Regions from separate parts of the Homo sapiens genome. Here regions 2, 3, 4, 5, 6 and 7 are each linked to region 1. Evidence: promoter capture Hi-C in 16 types of primary human blood cells and fetal thymus (Javierre and others, 2016). All regions are on one chromosome and are shown on one strand. Each heading gives the region's core, a stretch centred on a gene start or on the middle of the fragment in contact. The rest is flanking DNA. Distances are from core to core; before and after follow the strand shown. Region 1 holds the start of DDC (dopa decarboxylase). Region 2 overlaps COBL (cordon-bleu WH2 repeat protein). Region 3 overlaps COBL (cordon-bleu WH2 repeat protein). Region 4 overlaps COBL (cordon-bleu WH2 repeat protein). Region 5 overlaps SPMIP7 (sperm microtubule inner protein 7). Region 6 overlaps SPMIP7 (sperm microtubule inner protein 7). Region 7 has its middle 210 kb from the start of GRB10.

Region 1 (2,507 bases), core at 8-2,507:
TTTCTACCCCAGAGCCAGAGTGATCTTAAACCATAAGTAAGCTAAGGTTACTGCTTTCTAGAAACACTTCAATGCCTTCTATTACAGTTGGGGGGATACAAATTACGTAACGTGGCTTGCAAGACTCCCCCTCCCCTACTTTGAATGGTCCTTAGGAGTTGGCCTTCTGTCAGGGCCTGGGAGATGCCGAGCTTGATCCTCAGTAACTTTGCAGAGGCTGTTCCCTCTTTGGAGCCCTTCCCTCACTCTTCCCCTTACCAAGGACAATCACTTCTTCGGTTCTCAGCTCCTGTGAGACCCCAGGCGGGAGCATTTGGGTGTGCGTCATTGGAGGGCTCACTTGCCATTCTTTCTCTTTTCCCTCTTTCCTCCAATGGCTCCTGTGGAGGTTTTGAGACTCCTCAATGTCACTCTGCTTCTCTCTCCAGTTCCAGTCCTAACAATAGGAACCCTAGGTGCCCCGCCCCAGCCTGCTCCAGTCCCCTAGGATAGAGCAAGGAGAGCTCTTCCCTGCATCTAGCCTGTGACAAATGGCTCTAGTGACAGCCCTCTCTGCCTTGTTTCCAGTCCTTTAATGAGCTGCCCGCAGCCAGCCTCACTCTCACTCTGCTCTTCACACCCACTGAGCCCCACGCTTGGAGCTGCTGGGGGTCTGCCAGAAAGACCAGCTCCTAAGATCCCTGCAGGCTGTGCCTGCTCAACTTCTCAATGTGGCTTTCTCAGCCCTGCTTTGTGCTCTCATAAAATTCTATCGACTTTGGGGTTTTTTTATAAATTTGTCCAAATTCCACTCAGAGTATTGTTTCATGCATCTCAACTATGATTTTGATGGGTTTGGGGAAGGAAGGTGAGTTCCTGGGTTCTGCTGATATCTGAACCTGGAAATCTTACCCATATTGCTGAGTGCTGCACCGGGAAGTGCAGGCTTACTTTGGGGCTGCCTTCAGGGGCAGGAGGCTGTGTGCAATGCAGGCATCACCTGGTGCAGGGCTGGAACATATCAGATGACTTAATGGGCTCCAAACTTGAAATCAGGGCTGCTTAGTAAAAGATGGGATGTATGTAGAATTACATAAGAAAGATCCAAGCTTCCAGGATTTGGAATGAAACAGTCTCTTCAGAATGTGCTCTCAGGATTCCCAGAGGCGAGCTATTTCTCAAGATTTCCTTGACCTTTGTCACCATCAGGAATTAATGTTTAACTGGCACATGTGGCTGGAAATGCAAGAAGAGGGAAACGTGTGGCTTGGAGTTTCAAGAAGAGTGACTGTCTCAGTGCCGAGTGCCTCAGCAGCTTCTCCACATGCTCTTCAGTCCCCAAAGTTGGAGAATCCCATCAAGGAGAGTAGCCCTGTAAGGAATTCGAATTTCCAGCATGTAAGTCTCTGATTTTATACCTACTCAGATTGTAGTAGTGGAAAACAGCAACATGTACCTTGACTCTCTGGCCCCATGTTACTGAACATTTGCTTAAAGGTTAACTCACTTGAGGGAGCTTGTGTGGTGCTTTCTCTTCTGCTGCAGGCTGGCAGGGGTTTTTGTTCAGTGGGGGCTGTGCACTTGGTGGCTCTCCATGCACACACAGTCACTCCAGTGACACATGTTTGATAGGTGCTGGGAATGATTTCATGACTGGCTCAGTAGCAAATGCGGGCCAGATGTGATTCTATTTTTTCCATGCACCACCAGGGATGGTGTTGGGTATTTTATTCCCCCAGCCTCTGTTTCTTCTGTAAATGAGGATTTTCTTAGTATCTACCTTGTGAGGATTAAATCCCATGATTTTATGGAGGTGATTAGTAAATGTGAACTCTGCCCTTCCCTTTATAACATCTGAGGCTCCGTCAGGGCTCTCTCCTTTTGGTGTATGTTATAGTTTACTTAGAGGTCAATTTGGTGTCTACCTATGCAGTGTGATTTGAGGAGAATTAGAAGATCTTTCCCACCAACTTGCCATGCTGAGTACAATTCCCATCTGAAAACATATGCGGATAGGAATTTCTATTGGGAGAATTGTTCGGTTATCGACTTCAAGGAGTCGAAGTTCTCCTGGTTTTAAGTCTGTTGTCGGAAGTATATAAGAATCAAAGCTTAATCGATGGAAATCATTGCTCTCCATCATGCGTGAGTTAAAACCATTACTTCTGAGTGGTCAGTTTACATTGGGCTCTGTCTAGAAGGTTTGCCTTCTTCACCTCCAGTCACATCCCCATTTCACAAGTGAGCAAACAGCCAGAGGAGGGGAGGAGGATGGCATAAGATCTTGCAGCTGGCAGAGACGAAATGTGAATGTAGCCCGTTTGCACTTGGTGCTGTCGGGCAGCCAAGCAATCCAGTGTGTAGGTCCAGGGCGACAAGCGCTGCTCCCATGGCTGGGGTAAGTCCCTCCAGCATTCAGCCTTGCTCCCTGTGCTTATCTGGATGCGGTGTAGGATGAAGATGACCCTATAGAACTCTACCCTGGAAGTCCTGGCAAAGTGGATATGTGACATTTTTGAAACCAGGGA
Region 2 (2,507 bases), core at 6-2,505, 510 kb before region 1:
GTTCTTGAGGTTGTTTACATGTATCGGATCTGTAGGATTTAATGCTTTAGAATAGTAAAAATATATCATAGTGTGCTACTACACATCTCTTCACAGCACCGCATTCAGTGACTGATGTCAATAGCAGGAAATCAACCATCAAGAAACTATTTATAGCATAGGAATTAGCAAATGTTACAAATCAGATATTGATTGGTCTTGTTAATTGTCTAGATATAAGACAGTGATTGGGAAATGTAATAATACAGATTAAATAGAAAAGTATGTCATATCTGTAGCCAATACATTGTGAATAGCAGAAAAAATTGAGTTGTACATCCATTTTCCAAAAACCATGATCAATTCAGCCAAGTCATTCATGGGATTGACAAATGAGTAAAATTCCAACATATATCTTTCTGGTTTTATTCTCATCTTACTGTCTGATGCCATCATGTTGAAGTTATACTTCTTTGTTAACGGTAATAATTGACTGGCTACAGGTTAAAGAATCTGGGAAAAATTAATGAAAGCATTCTATGAGAATCAACTGGTAATACAGAATTTACAAAAAATAGTATTATGCATTTTATTATTACTTATAAATTTTGTGCTACTTATCCTTTATATAAGTAAAACTGATTATAACTATTTATACCTTTTTCCTCCAAAGAGCTGGTTACTAACCATTTACCAAAATACCACTGCAAAGTAGTAACAAATATGAATAGAAATGGTGAAAAGAAGTAATATTATTTAGTTAAGAAACCTGAGAACAGATTTCTTTGATTTTCATGAGTGCTCAAGCCCTAAGCTGATGCAAATAATCACAACTGTATTTTGTTTCCTTGAGCTTTAACTAGTAGCATGTACTCAGGTTACGTATAAAAACCATGTTGAAGAACTTCTCTTTGGGTTTATATAAATTTGAGTCCTTCCCAGAAATAAGGCATAAACATCTTGATTTTTCAACAATGGTTTGAAGTTGTTATTAAATATCATTACCTTCACGCCTGTAATCCCAGCACTTTGGGAGGCTGAGGCGGGTGGATCACGAGGTCAGGAGATCGAGACCATCCTGGCCAATATAGTGAAACCCCATCTCTACTAAAAATACAAAAATTAGCCAGGCATGGCGGTGCATGCCTATAATCCCAGCTACTCTGGAGGCAAAGGCAGGAGAATCCCTTGAATCAGGGAGTTGGAGGTTGCAGTGAGCCGAGATCGCGCCACAGCACTCTAGCCTGGCAACAGAGCGAGACTCTGTCTCAAAAAAAAAAAAAAAAAAAAAAATCATTACCTTGTTTTACTAGTTAAGAAGTAAATAGAGATTATGAATCAGGCATTCTCTTATGACAATAGTCTTCTAAACTGTTTGTCTCAGGAGGTTTTGGGTGCTGATGTGCACTCAGGCATGGCCCTTCTTTATTTTAATCCCTTTCCCCCAAGGCCTTCAGAGATTTAAAGCTACTCTCATGTAATAGCCCTTTGCACCACAGGTCAGTCTCCCACTAGAGAAAACAGCAGCACTCAAGAGGAGTTTGCTCCACAGGTACTTGGAGTTGATATCCATCTCCAACTCAGTAAATCAACCAGTATTCTCTAAGTTTATATGTGGGGCCTGCCCAGTGTCACCATTATCAAGATGGGATACACTGAAATTGAGGGCATCACAAAGCCATATGGTCTGTTTTCCTCTGGAGTTCTACAAGTAACTTAGACTGTTTTTCAAGAGGTAAGAAATAAATGACTTGCCTACCAGCTGCTTCGTGTCTCGGCTTGTAAGGACCTTAGGTTTCATACCAAATCCAAATAATTTTATGTGGCAACCTGAAAGACCAACCATGAGGGAAGTGATGCTTATGATATGGTTCTTACAGGAGGCAGAATCATATCTGTTGGATCAATAGGCCCTTTCCACAGCTGGCATACAAAAAGACTAAATGGAAAGGAAGAAAACAATAACAATATGCTTTGGCTGATAGAACGCTTGCTATGCAGTGTTAAATCTCCAGGGGCTGGAAAATGAATGATAATGGCAGATATTTATTTCACCGCAAGTGTGCGTTCACATTTTGCCATTTATTTTCCCCCCGCAGTTTATTGCTGTGCGTCATTCCCTACTCAGGCCAAGCGCTTCTGATGGACGGGCCTCTTCCTGACCTCGGACCTTTCCCAGTGTCTCTTCTGCCCTGGCTCTGATTTTCCTGTTGTTCTTCCTCCTTTCAGGATAAAAGGGCTCATTGTATACCCAGAATTTACTTCCTTTGGGGTTTACATATAAATGCATTAATAACAGAGATTTGTTTGATTGAGGTTTATATTTTTTTGAAGGAGGTAAATTATATGCAAATTTTAGGTTGATAATATTCACCTGTCTGAAATTCACTGATACTTGGAAATGTTCCTGTGAAGAACTCTGCTTTATTTTAATTCATTATTAATTCATGTTTTTCTTATTGGATATTCAGTTCCAGAATTTATTGCCAATTTTTCTTAAAACTAGATTGTATCCATAAATTGACCAG
Region 3 (2,507 bases), core at 4-2,503, 490 kb before region 1:
AGTGCATACATAAACATAGAAGGGCAATGTATCTGATTTTCTTCAAACATTTAAGAAATTTTGTTACGTTTATCCAAAAAGCTTCTAAAAAAAAAAGATTACCAAAAAAAGCAACCTAATGTAAACCATGGTTATCTTGGGGATAAGTGATTATTTTCTTTCCAAATGTTTGTGTTTTCCTTACTTTCTATATGAAAGAAAAAGAAAACAAACTTCATTTTAAAAACTAAAATAATCCTAATTTAAAAACTCTGGTAGAATGTGGTCATAGGAGGGTATCCGTAATAAGAGGAATGGAAGAGGTGAGGTGTGGCCATCTATCCTTTCAGGGCATGGAGGGGAAAATGGGGTCCCTGCCTCGCAAGGGGACAGCATCCAACTTCCAGTCCCTGGGACAGACCCTGAAACCCTAAGGCTGGAGCCCCAGCATCTCATGTAGGTTATTTTGAGTGTTGGTGGGTTTTGCTGAGGTGAGTGTTTTCTGGCCAATAAAGCCAAGTTATTTTGGGCCACCATAATTGTGAGTTAGACAGGTGGTTTGTGTGTGAAACATTTAATTTGCTGGCTGTGTAGTCTGTTGACTTTGGATAAGGCTAGAAACAATTCTATACTAGTTTCCCAAAATGATGGGCCCTGATGCTGATCTTATCACTGTTACAAGCAGACGCACAGTGCCAAGGCAGGCTGGACTACGGGAGGGGAGCTCTAGAGAAAAATCTTGTTACTATTCATTGCTTTTATGCTGACTACTCTACTGTATTTGAGTACCTTTTAAGTATAGTAGTCCCCTGCTTATTCACAGGGGGATATGTTTCAGGACCTTCCATGGATGCCTGAAACCTCAGCACTGAATATATGTGTGTGTGTGTGTGTGTATGTGTGTGCGTGCACGCATATATATATACTGTTTTTTTCCTATGCATACATACCTGTGATAAAGTTTAATTTCTGCATTAGGCACAGTGAGCAACAATGACTAGCAATGAAATAGGACAATTATAACAATATGCCAACATCAGTACTCTTGTGCTTTGGGCCATTATTAAGTACAGTAAGGGCCCCTGAACACAATCTCTGCAACCTTGAGACAGTCCGTCTGAGAACCAAGACCACTGCTAAGTGACTCACAGGCAGGGGAGGAGACAGTGTGGATCCACTGGAAAAAGGGAAGATTCCCATTCATGGTGGGACAGGACAGGATGGCAGATTTCACCAGGCTACTCAGAAGGACACGTGATTCAAAACTGACCAAGTGTTTATTTCTGCAATTGTTCATTTAATATCTTGGTTGATCACAAGTAACAAACTGCAGAAAGCAAAACCTCCAACAAGGAGGGACTACTATGATGGTTTTTGCCGTGTGTGTGTGTGTGTGTGTGTGTGTGTGTGTGTGTGTTGGGAGAGCACTGTATACAAGCATAGTTATTAGTCATTTCGCTTTTCTCCACTCACTTTTAATGGTATGTTAGCATTGTGTGATTTCTAAAAATACTCAGAAGAGAACTCATCTTGGAACAAGCCCCGATTAGAGTATCTTTTCAATATTAAAAGATATGTTTTATTCCTTAGTCCAGAACCAGGTAACAGTTTAAATTAGTCATCTTCACAGTCTTTGCTATTTAATCTGACCCAAACTTCAGGCAATTGATACAAATAACTAATAAGGCAAAAATAACCCAGCTGGCCAGGAAACTGATGCCCTGAGGTTGCAGATGGAGGCACTGATGCAGAGACACCAGACAGGTCATCCTTGGAGACTCAGGTTTCAATGCTGCCATTGATGAGGGCTCATTTCCCCCGGTGACGATACAGGCACCTCTCACTAGCCTTTTGACAGCCTTTTGACACCTGGGATGTAGAGGCTCTTTGCTGCCTCTCCTCTGTTTTCTCCAGCATCTCGGGGTCCCATTTGCTCACACTCAGGCTGTGCCACCCCTACCCTGCTCAGCTCTCCTCCCCCTGCTCTTCCTCATGCCCCCACTTCATCATGCACCCCCCCATATTGTTTCTTTGCTCTTTGTTTTTGACGTAGTTTACAAACATTTGGAATGTGTTTTATTTTTGTAAGTAATTTCCTCATTCTGTCTTTCTGAAACTATTCTATTATAGTTTCCGCAAGTAATTATTTCAGCTCTACTTCTGTCTGAAGAAAAATGACATTTGTAACTTTGTTGAGGGCATTTTGGGACAAGTTCCCATGAAACAGGAGACATGTGAAGAGCACTGAGATGGGAAATGGAATCTGCTAATTTTAGAAAAAGGCAAATACTCCTGCCTTTTGAGAGCAGGGACTGAATGTGACTTTTTAAAACTGGTCGTCCGTTAACTCCAGCGCCTGTTGTTGGAGACAGCTGTCTTTGAACTATTGCAGGGAATAGGTTTCAGTAAGATGACAACAGAAAGCTACATGGGGATACAAAGCTTAAATGTAGGTGGTTCTCACCTGCAGCCCAGTGAGGGGAGAAAGCCGGCTGGCCAGGAACTCTGGGGGAGGTACGAAGGAAGCC
Region 4 (2,507 bases), core at 4-2,503, 470 kb before region 1:
CATTTCGGATTGGTCAGATTCAGCCCATTCTCCCTCATAGCAAATGAAAACAACAAATCAAAAAGCGCTTTTGGCTCCTGGCACTAACTGAATTTGACTGTCCCTAGTTCTCGTTTTTGCTGGAGGCTGGGGTATGAATGCAGAGGCTCAGCAAGCCCTGCACACACCCGGCTGGGTGGATCGGTCAGCCTGCCACCCTCCGACCATCCCAAGAGGCTGGGCCCAAGGACGCAGGTCCACTTCCTGGGCAGACTCTGGTTTGAAACTTGCCGGTGCTGAGCTGTGTCCCTCATATTGCATGCCCCAGTAGCCTAAACATTCACATTCCCTGCAGAGTCCCCAACTCCGTGTGAGAAAATAACTGCAATACTTATTCAACACATGCAGCCTGATATCAAAATGTCTTCCCTGTGTTTGTTTGCATTTATTTCCTTGATCTTAAGCCAGAACAAACTGTCAATAAGGAACGTTTCTAAAGATTGAGGTATGTGTTGGTGGGGGGGAAGGAAGCCCGGGAGAAAAACATCTGGGCAGGTTTACTTTAAGCTAACAGAGGCTGATGTTTCTTGCTGACTGCTAACTCTTCAGGGACACATACCTAGGGCTCCCCTGCTAAGCCCACAGGGAACTGGCCTCCAAGCCCAGTGACTAAGGGCATAAATCTGGTGGTTTTGCAAAGAGAGAGGAATGTTTATAATCCATTAGTAACCCTTTGGAGAGAAGTAGATGGGAGTTAGTAAGGAAGGAAAATACTGCTGTCTCTCCCTCCTGCTTTCTTACACTGGAAAGTAAAATCACTACATTGCCATTGGCTCTGGCTTTTGCTAGATAATCCATTCATACATGCTCAGAACACAGCCGCCCTGTTTTGCATCAAAAGAAGAGCAGGCTGCTCCTCTTTCCTCTCTCAGAGATGCCAGGAGCTTGGCAGCCTCAGGAGGAACACCAAACAAGGTCCTGGGCTGCGTGGTGGCCAGACCTTCCCTCACTCCACGGTGCACACAGGCTGGGAGCTCCTAGCTCATGTCCACTCTTTCTTTCAGGGCAAGCAGGGCCCCAAGGAGCCAGCCCCACACTGAAGTGTGGGGGAGCAAAGCTGGAGCAGAGGTGGGATGCAGAGGTACCAGCATTGCCTGGAACCAAGCAGCAGCGTCCGGGGCAACCTCTATAGAGTGCCAAGTGAGGCCAGTGGTGGGAGGGAGCTGGACAGGAAAAAACACAGGGATGAAGGACTAGGGCTGAGCACAGGGTCCCCAGACTCCAGAAAGGCAGCTGTAACTGGTGGATAGGGGAGAAACCAGCTCAGAAGCAGCCCCAAGCGCCTGGAGCTGGGCTCCTGCTGTTTCTAGAGGGCAGGGAGCCCGGAGCCTGGGAGGAGGAAGGTGTTGAAGGGCTGAGACTGTTCAGACCTTGTACAGCCTCTCTGTTACAGTTTCAGGCTGACAGCCACGCACTAAGATTGCTAGGCACTCAGTAACAAAATAAAGTGCTTACTGTGTGCAGTGTAAGAAGAATGCAGACTCCTTTGCAGGAAAGAATTCTTGTTCACTAAAGGACAAAATTATCCTTTTAAATTTTGCTGGCTAAAAATTTGCTCTGTCACTCAAGCTGCTTTGAACTCAACCAAGCACAGTTCTAAAGAAAAAGGGTAAAATATTCATCCTAATTCATCCTTTTCCTTAAGTCATGCTGGTTGGTTTCTTGTTAGATTTCTGTCTCCGCCTTGTCCAAAGGTATTTGCTATTTTTAAATCATCACAGTGTTTCTATATATGTGTGTGCTGATTTCTTCACATAACATGCTAACATAAGCATGGATGTGTGTTTCTACATAGACTTAATGATCATCATATTTACTGATTTTAATGCCCTTTGAAATATATATGTAATAATTTAGGTAACTGCCTAGTGCTGGACATTTCTAGAATTCTTACATGAACTTTGTTGTATTTATATTTTTCCTTCTATAGGGTTTCCTTAAAGCAGATTATTAAAAAAGAGATTAATGGGCCAAAGTTCTTACAAAGATAACGTGATTTTTGTTTGTGTGTTTTTTGATATGTATTTCCACATTGCTTTCCAATTAAAACCTGTAGCAACAAGTGTGGGTCTGTCAGATTCATCACATCTTCATCAGCTTGGGGTGGGTTTTTGTTTTGTTTTGTTTTGTTTTGCTATTTTGCAAAATGGTAGAATCAGTGGAGTTTTTATCTTATTATTTTTTTTAATTCTTATTGATATCATTATGTTCCATGTCTCATAGTGACGTGATCAAGCATACTTTAAAATAAAGGCAAATACTTTGAAGTAAAAGTATGTCTGTAATTTTGTTTGGCTGGGCTTTAAGCATCCTAAACTAAGAGCAAGCATTTAAAAAGTTTTCCATCTTTCCAAGTATTTAAATCTCTTTTCCATTTCAGATTGCTCTTTTATATGGCAATTTCCATTTTTCTCTGCCATATATTTTATTAAAAATTTAAATGTATTTAAACCATCTCATTCCATGAA
Region 5 (2,507 bases), core at 6-2,505, 450 kb after region 1:
ATTTTTTTAATTTTAAAATTTCATTTTATCTCCTATTAACTTACTACATATGCTTTAAAAATTTTTTTCTTTTCTGTTGTTGCTGTCTCTCTAGGATTTATAGTATACATATTTTACAATATACATCTTTAACTCCAGGGTTTACAGGATAATAATATATCATTTCAAAAATAGTGTAAAAAAATTTAAACAGCATATGCTCATTTTCTTTGCTGTCCCTTATACTACTGTCACACAATTTACTTTTTTATATGCTATAAACCTGAAACACATTACTATTATTGTTGCTTTAAACAGTGATACTGTAAAGAACTCCAAGATGAAAAATAGTATTTTATATTTACCCATATGTTTACCATTTCTGTTCACCTCAATTTATTTCATTGTGTGAACTTGAATTTTCATATACATTATTTTCTTCTGTCTAAAGAAATTCCTTCAGGTCTACTGGCAGTGCATTCTTTCAGCTTTGTTTTTACAAAAAATGTTTCTATTTTGCCTCTAATTTTAAATATTTTTATTGTTAGTTAATATCTTCTTAGTTTATTGTTATTTGTTTTTGTTACTTAAAATATGTGCATTTATTTTCTTCTGGCTTGCAGAAACTGACAAAAAGCCAGAAGTCATTCTTACATGTGTTTCTTTGTAAATATCTTTTCTCTAGCTGTTTTTAAGATTTTATCTTTATCACTGTTTTTCAGCAATGTCATTGATGTGTTTTGGGCATAATTTTAAAAAAAATTTATACAGATTGAAATTTGTTGAACATCTTGTGTCTTCAGATTTATAATTTTGATCAGTTAGGAACAATTTGTGTCATTGTGTCACCAATCTTTTTTCTCAGCTCACTTTTATTCTGAGACCCCAATGCATGTATGTTAGACTTCTTACTAGATACCGTTCCGCAGTAACTGATGCTTTATTTTGAAGCTTTATTTTCTCTCTTTTCGTTTTGAATAGTTTATGTTGCTATGTCTTTATTTTCACTGATCTTTCATCATGCAAGATCTGCTCTGTTCTTAAAACTACCAACTTATCTTTTACTTCAGATGTATTTTTCATGTCTAGAAGTCCGTTTGTATCTTCATATCATCCCTTGTTCTCATCATGGTTGTGGCTGTCTCTATGATCTGAACATATGAAACAGATTTGTAATAGCTGTTTGAATACAATAGCTGCTTGGTCTTCTATGTCTGTCACTCATAGATCTGTTATTATTGACAGATTTTTCCCCTGGGTGATATTTTTCTGCTTCTTTGCATGAAAAGTAGTTTCATTTTATTTTTTAAACTGAGAACTTATTTTGGACTTTAAGTTGTTGGTTGGTTGCTGGAAGTTGTTTTATTCTTAAGTTTTGGATTTTTTTTCCAGCAAATAAAGTAATTGGAATCAGTCGGATGCTTTTAAAATTTGAGAAAGTCCAGAGGAATCTTTAAAGTTGGACTAGTTAAGCCTGACTACAAAGGTAATATCCCTTTGAAGATCTGACCTGATGTACCTATGTACTATAAAGTTTTTTATTCTAGTTTGTGGGGACATAAAACGTTCCCTGTCCTGTTTGAGTTTCAGGGAAAGCTTATGCCCACTTCTTTACAGTGGGTTTTTCCTTAGCTTTAGTAGTTCCTTTTATGTTTACATAGATCAGTACCCAAAGACCTGAGCGATCTCTTTTGCATATCTCCAAAGCCCCACTGCTCCTCCACATCCGGATAACTCCCTCTTCTCTGCTATCTTACCCTGCAAATTCTACATTCCTTGGCTTCCCAGAACTCTAATCTCTCTCCTCAATCCAACAAGAATGTAAAGCTATGTTTGGGTTTCACTTTCCTGGGCTGTGGCTTAAAAACTGCCCCCAGGAAGCAAGCTGGTGTAATTGCAGGGCTCACATCGTTAGTTTCCCTTCTTTAGAGATCCCAGTCCTTCAGTGCCTTTGGCCAGTGTCTGGAAATGATTATTTTTTATAATTTGTCCAGTTTTCTATTTGGCTAAAGCAGAAAAGTAGCTTGAGTGCCCGTTACTTCATCTTCTCTAATTTATTCATTACTTTGCTTATCATTTTTTTATTTTTCTTTTCGTGCTTTCTTTTGATTTACTTTGCTGTTCATTTTGTAGCTTTTCACCTGGGAAGGGTGCTACTGGCATCTAGTGGGTGAGGTCAGGGGTGTTGCTAATCATCCTACATTGCACAGGATAGTCTCCTTCAGCAAAGATTTATGAAGCCCAAAATTCTGACCATGCCAAGGTCCAGAAACCATGGTTTAACACATTCTGTTCCACTGCTTGGTTTTTGCTCTTCAGGACCTCCAATTATATGTATATTGTTTCTTCTTTGTTTATCTTCCACTTCAACCATCTTCTCTTTAACACTTTTAAATATTCTTTATCTCATGTTCATTCTCTTGAATATTTTTTCATTTTTTATTCAACGTCCTTTGTTAAATTTTGGTTTTCTCTGTTTTTCCTTTGCACCATTTAATTATTATTCCAAGATAATTTTGTATTATTTT
Region 6 (2,507 bases), core at 5-2,504, 430 kb after region 1:
GACCTCTTGGGATCTATATTAAGAGCTGTATTTCAATATAATTGATTTACTTTTTAATCCTATGGATTTTGTGTACTCAAAAACTTCATTATGGGAAAAGCCCAAGGGCTTAACCAGACTCCTACGCGTGAGAAGTGGCACAAAAAGATAAAGGAATCAATGGAAGTAGAAGGTACTTCGCAAGCACAGAGCTGAGACATCTAATCCAGTGTTGGGAGGTCAAAAGTGAGGGTTACAATAAGACCTGAAGAATTCTTGAGATTCACCTAGCATAAATAGGGAGAGTGATGAAGGCAGTGGAAGACTCTTTGCAAAGCACACAACCTGGAAACGAGCATGGGAGACTTGAGGACTTGAGAGAAGCTCAGCAGAGAAAGGACAGAGTACACTGTGGGGTGATGTTTGGGCAATAAAGAGGAACAGTAAGAAGACGAGAACGGGGCAGGGATGAAGCTAAGGAGGGAACCATGGGCAAATAATGGAGAATTGGGTCTGTGTCACGTCAAGGAGTGTGGATTTTATTTTTAAATAAAAAAGGATGGGTTTAATCAGTGGAGTAATACAAACAGATTCACACATTACGAAAAGTTATCTGGCTATGGCATAGATATGATAATTCCTGTGATAAATTCTTCTTGACACTCGGAAATAAAAAGAATGAGTGTCACTACTGAAAAGTTGGTATGCTTTGTTTTATCACATAATAAGTGACAACATCAGATAGCAATCTATGGATCTTCTCTTTTTGCCATGAAAAGTACAGAGCTAAGATCTAGATCCTGTGTGAAGAACCATCTTCAGCATAGGTTATCTGGTAAAATTATTTCTGTCTTCTTCATTATTTACTCATTCTCTTGCAATTCCAAAAATAAACACAGTCATTGCAAATAACTTTTGAGAAAGAGGTAGTCTTTACATAATCAATAAAAGTTTTGAATATTGAAAACATCAAAGTATTTGCAGTCATCAATAACTTGCACGATTACGGAAATTTCAACTCCATACGTGTGTGTGTGTGTGTGTGTATATATATTTACTTATCTTACATAAATTTACTTCCTTAGGTATTGTTAACAATAAAATAAGTATTATTTTGACTTAAAGTTTTAGAACTCATTTCAATAACAATGAGAAATACATTATTGTTCAGAGAAGTCTGCTGACCTGAGTTATTGCTGGCACCCCTTTATATCTTTTCAGAGTAAAACACTGTGAGATGGGGTCAGCGGTTTTTTCCAATGTTGTTTCTTCTGGAACAAGTTTTGGTGGTAGCATCTTATCCCAAGGAACATCTTCATAAGCTCTATGAAGTTATTAAATAGGAACATCTTATGAAAAGCATATTCAATTGGTAAAGTTTATAACAATATGATACTATGATAAGAGAATCCGAAGATGACCCTGAGGATCCCTGCCCCTTGGTGTGTATACCATATATAATCACCTCCCCTGGACAGTAGGCAGAGCAAGTGATTATGATGAGGTAGTACTCCTGTGTTATGTGATTTTATATGCCCCAAGAGATTGGCACATGTAGTAAAGGTCCCTAATTGGTTGAATTTGAGTTAATCAGAAGGTGGGATTTTCCTGAATAGGCCCAACCTAAGCAAGCAAGCTCTAAAAAAGAGACACAAAACAACAACACATGCTCTTTGTCTGCCCTTGAAGAAACAAATGTCAGTCCTATAGCCACAATAAATGGAATTCTGTCAACAACCTGAATGATCCCGGAAGATGAGAACCAAGTCTCATCTGACACCTTGATTCCAGCTTTAGGGAACCCTAAACAGTAAACCCAGTTGGGACATACCTAGACTTCTGACCTACAGGACTGCTAGATAACAGAAGCTGCTAAATTCCTGCAGTCTGTCACACAGAAGTAGAAAACTTACATACATCTTACAGTTTCCAAAAAAATGCTCATTTGACCTTCAGAGGATACCATTAATTTACAAATCAACTATGGCTTAGAAAACTGATTTCCTTTGCTTAAGGTCAGCTATTGGTCAAAGTCAGGACTCTCCCCTGCAAAAATAATCTGCCTCCTAAGATTCAGCAACAGTCCCACTATTCCACACTAATGCAGCCAAATTGTACAAGTTTTTTGGCATGGTTGAAGGGCTTCAGCCGTCCTATGACATGCAATTATTTTAAACACACACACACACACACACAAACACACACACACAAATATGGGGATCTTTGGAGTTTTGAAAGTTGTTCTTTCACAGGCATATATGACAGACACAGTGAAATCAATTCCAGTTGGATCCTGAGTGAAAACCATACAACCCTCATTCTAAAGACTATATTCTGACAAGATAGATGGATCCCCAGACCTTCTCCTGCCCTATTCACACTTAGTGTGAAACTTGATCTTTCCATTCTATGGACAAGGCATATCTTTCCAAAAAAATCCCACTGTGAGTCAAAGTCATTTTTAAAAGAATTACCAGTGATTCTCACTTCCTCCACATATATTTGTTCAGAGATAACTATATTTCAAG
Region 7 (2,507 bases), core at 3-2,502, 430 kb before region 1:
TTAAGCAGATGAAATCGGTGTCCTGTCTTTGAGAGGTAAAAGAATGTTGCTTTAGTCAGGCCATGGACCTTGTTGTAGCAAAGATCACTCTCTGCCCATTACCAACTGTGCAGTATAAATAAAAAACCTTTGAAAAAAATAAAATAAAATAATAAAATAACTGTTTTATTAAAAGCTGGTGGAAAAAAATCTTACAAAAATCATATCAGGTTTTCTGTTACTGCATAAATTCACTTAGGATAATGGCCTCCAGCTGCATCTGTGTTGCTTCAAAGGACATAATTTCATTATTTTTAATGGCTGCATAGTATTCCATGGTGTATATGTAGCATATTTTCTTTATCCAGTCCAACTTTGATGGGCTCCTGGGTTGATTCCACATCTTTGTTATTGTGGATAGTGTTGCAATGAACAAGTACAAGCGTGTGTGTGTCTTTTTGATAGAATGATTTGTTTTTCTTTTGGATATATACCCAGTAATGGGATTGCTGGGTTGAATGGTAGCCCTGTTTTAAGTTCTTTGAGAAATCTCCAAACTGCTTTCCACAGTGGCTGAACTAATTTACATTCCTATCAACAGTGTATAATGTTCCCCTTTCTCCATAGTCTTTGCCAACATCTGTTGTTTTTTGACTTTTTAATAATTGCCATTCTGACTGTGGTGAAATGGTACCTAGTTGTAAGTGGGAGCTAAACACTGGGGACTCATAGATGTACAGATGCAACAATAGACACTGGGGACTACTGGGAGGGAGGGGAGCAAGGCTTGAAAAACTGTTGGGTACTGTGCTAGGTACCTGGGGGATGGGGCCATTTATATGCCAAACCCAAGCATCACACAATATACCCAGGTAACACACCTGGACAGGTACTACCCTGAATCGACAATAAAAGTTGAAAAAAATTAAAAATTAAAAAAATTTAAAGATACTTGCATCCACATGTTTATCACAGAGCTATTCACAATAGCAGAGATATGGAATCAACCTAAGTATCTATCAGCAGACTACTGGATAAATAAAATATGATATATATATGTATATATATATACACCATGGAATACTGTTCAGCCCTAAGAAAGAATGAAAGCATGACTTCGCAGCAACATGGGTAGCACTGAAGGCCATTATCTTAAGTAAAACCACTCAGACACAGAAAGGCAAATGTCACATGTTCTCACTTATAAGTGAGAGCTAAATAACATGTACACATGGACATAGAGTGTGGAATGAGAGTCAAAAGGGGGAAGTAGACAGGAGTGGAGTAGATGATGAGAATTTACTTAATGGGTTCAATGTACATTATTTGGGTGGTTGGGTGATGGATACCCCAAAAGCCCAGACCTCATCATTATGCAATACATCCATGTAATAAAATTGCACTTGTACCCCTTAAATTCATATAAATAAAATAAAACATATACTGAAATAGTCTTATCAGGAGAGATAAGAGGCCAGGTGTGGTGGTTCATGCCTGTAATCCCAGCACTTTGGGAGGCCGAGAAGGGTGGATCACCTGAGGCCAGGAGTTCGAGACCAGCCTTGCTAACATGGTGAAACCCCGTCTCTACAAAAAGCACAAAAATTAGCTGGGCATGGTGGTGCGTGCCTGTAATCCCAGCTACTCAGGAGGCTGAGGCAGGAGAATCACTTGAACTCGGGAGGTGGAGGTTGCAGTGAGCCAAGATCGTGCCATTACACTCCAGCCTGGGCGACGAGAGCGGAACTCCACCTCAAAAAAAAAAAAAAAGGAAAGATAAGACAGACTTCTTACTAATTAGCCCCATGGAATATAAAATGGTCAACTCTTATTCATCTTCACTAAATGTAAATAGAACAGTGGTAATAAAAATACACAATACATCACATAATATTCAGGTTGGAGAGGAGCAGCTGGACAAGAGGCCCCTATCATAAATCTATAAACATCGAGAACACTTTAAGGACCATCAAAGCCAAGCTAACTGTGGGTTCTCTCCCCAGCGATGCCTATGCTTTATGTCATCCATTTATTCGACAAACACATTCTGAGCATCCACTCTCCTTCACTGGAACAAAGAAGAGAAACACAGTCCCAGCCTCCTGGAACTTGGGCACACGGCATAGCTCTGTTCTCTGCAAGAACCCTCATTCTGTCCTCCCTGGCAAGAGCAGGGTGTGGCTGTAAGCAACCTCAGAGCTTCAAGGACAAAGTTATCTTTTGTTTCCTTGGTTGGTGTCATTTCCCATCCCCAGGTGAACATGGGCTACAGGATTTTTAAAAGGTGACCAACAGGCTGTCAATAATGCTAGGAAAGAAAAGTGGCCTCTATTGCTAAAAGGAGAACTGAAACTCAGTGAGCATCCTGAGGGCAGTTTCGTGCCCCACAGAAGGGAGGGTGCAGGCTGTAGAAGGAAGGCCAAGCTCAGCAGGCAAACAGGCAGATGGCCCTAGGAAGGCAGGAGCTAGGATGCCGGCCCAAGCCAGCCTCCATAGGAGCAGTGGGACAGGTAGGGCAGAGAACTCAG

Evidence for each region. The method cuts DNA at HindIII sites, captures the fragments that hold promoters and counts their contacts. A CHiCAGO score of 5 or more calls a contact.
Region 2: a contact is called between a fragment that was not itself captured here and the fragment with the promoter of DDC in region 1, in 2 of 17 cell types (erythroblasts and megakaryocytes). The highest score is 6.1, in erythroblasts.
Region 3: a fragment that was not itself captured here is called in contact with the fragment with the promoter of DDC in region 1 in 5 of 17 cell types (non-activated CD4 T cells, erythroblasts, megakaryocytes and 2 more); the score reaches 7.1 in non-activated CD4 T cells.
Region 4: a contact is called between a fragment that was not itself captured here and the fragment with the promoter of DDC in region 1, in 2 of 17 cell types (erythroblasts and megakaryocytes). The highest score is 5.8, in erythroblasts.
Region 5: a fragment that was not itself captured here is called in contact with the fragment with the promoter of DDC in region 1 in 9 of 17 cell types (total CD8 T cells, erythroblasts, naive CD4 T cells and 6 more); the score reaches 8.6 in total CD8 T cells.
Region 6: a fragment that was not itself captured here is called in contact with the fragment with the promoter of DDC in region 1 in 6 of 17 cell types (neutrophils, erythroblasts, non-activated CD4 T cells and 3 more); the score reaches 6.8 in neutrophils.
Region 7: a contact is called between a fragment that was not itself captured here and the fragment with the promoter of DDC in region 1, in 2 of 17 cell types (total CD4 T cells and non-activated CD4 T cells). The highest score is 5.2, in total CD4 T cells.

What each region holds. Positions count from the first base shown.
Region 1 is chr7:50,564,155-50,566,661 of GRCh38, reverse strand. DDC (dopa decarboxylase) reads left to right here and starts at 1,257. Exons shown (of 15, transcript NM_001082971.2): 1 at 1,257-1,377. The HindIII fragment of the contact is 1,002 bases long and covers 1,091-2,092 here.
Region 2 is chr7:51,072,957-51,075,463 of GRCh38, reverse strand. All of the region lies in intron 7 of COBL (cordon-bleu WH2 repeat protein), which reads left to right. Among named protein-coding and RNA genes, the nearest start is that of COBL, 240 kb to the left of the region's middle. The HindIII fragment of the contact is 4,001 bases long and covers 1-2,507 here.
Region 3 is chr7:51,055,702-51,058,208 of GRCh38, reverse strand. The region is part of intron 7 of COBL (cordon-bleu WH2 repeat protein); the gene reads left to right. Among named protein-coding and RNA genes, the nearest start is that of COBL, 260 kb to the left of the region's middle. The HindIII fragment of the contact is 2,340 bases long and covers 84-2,423 here.
Region 4 is chr7:51,032,786-51,035,292 of GRCh38, reverse strand. The region is part of intron 8 of COBL (cordon-bleu WH2 repeat protein); the gene reads left to right. Among named protein-coding and RNA genes, the nearest start is that of GRB10, 250 kb to the right of the region's middle. The HindIII fragment of the contact is 3,054 bases long and covers 1-2,507 here.
Region 5 is chr7:50,112,078-50,114,584 of GRCh38, reverse strand. The region is part of intron 2 of SPMIP7 (sperm microtubule inner protein 7); the gene reads right to left. Among named protein-coding and RNA genes, the nearest start is that of SPMIP7, 17 kb to the right of the region's middle. The HindIII fragment of the contact is 645 bases long and covers 933-1,577 here.
Region 6 is chr7:50,132,904-50,135,410 of GRCh38, reverse strand. It overlaps SPMIP7 (sperm microtubule inner protein 7), which reads right to left. Exons shown (of 9, transcript NM_001161834.3): 4 at 1,165-1,303. Among named protein-coding and RNA genes, the nearest start is that of SPMIP7, 38 kb to the right of the region's middle. The HindIII fragment of the contact is 3,110 bases long and covers 1-2,507 here.
Region 7 is chr7:50,994,972-50,997,478 of GRCh38, reverse strand. No RefSeq gene overlaps it. Among named protein-coding and RNA genes, the nearest start is that of GRB10, 210 kb to the right of the region's middle. The HindIII fragment of the contact is 5,530 bases long and covers 1-2,507 here.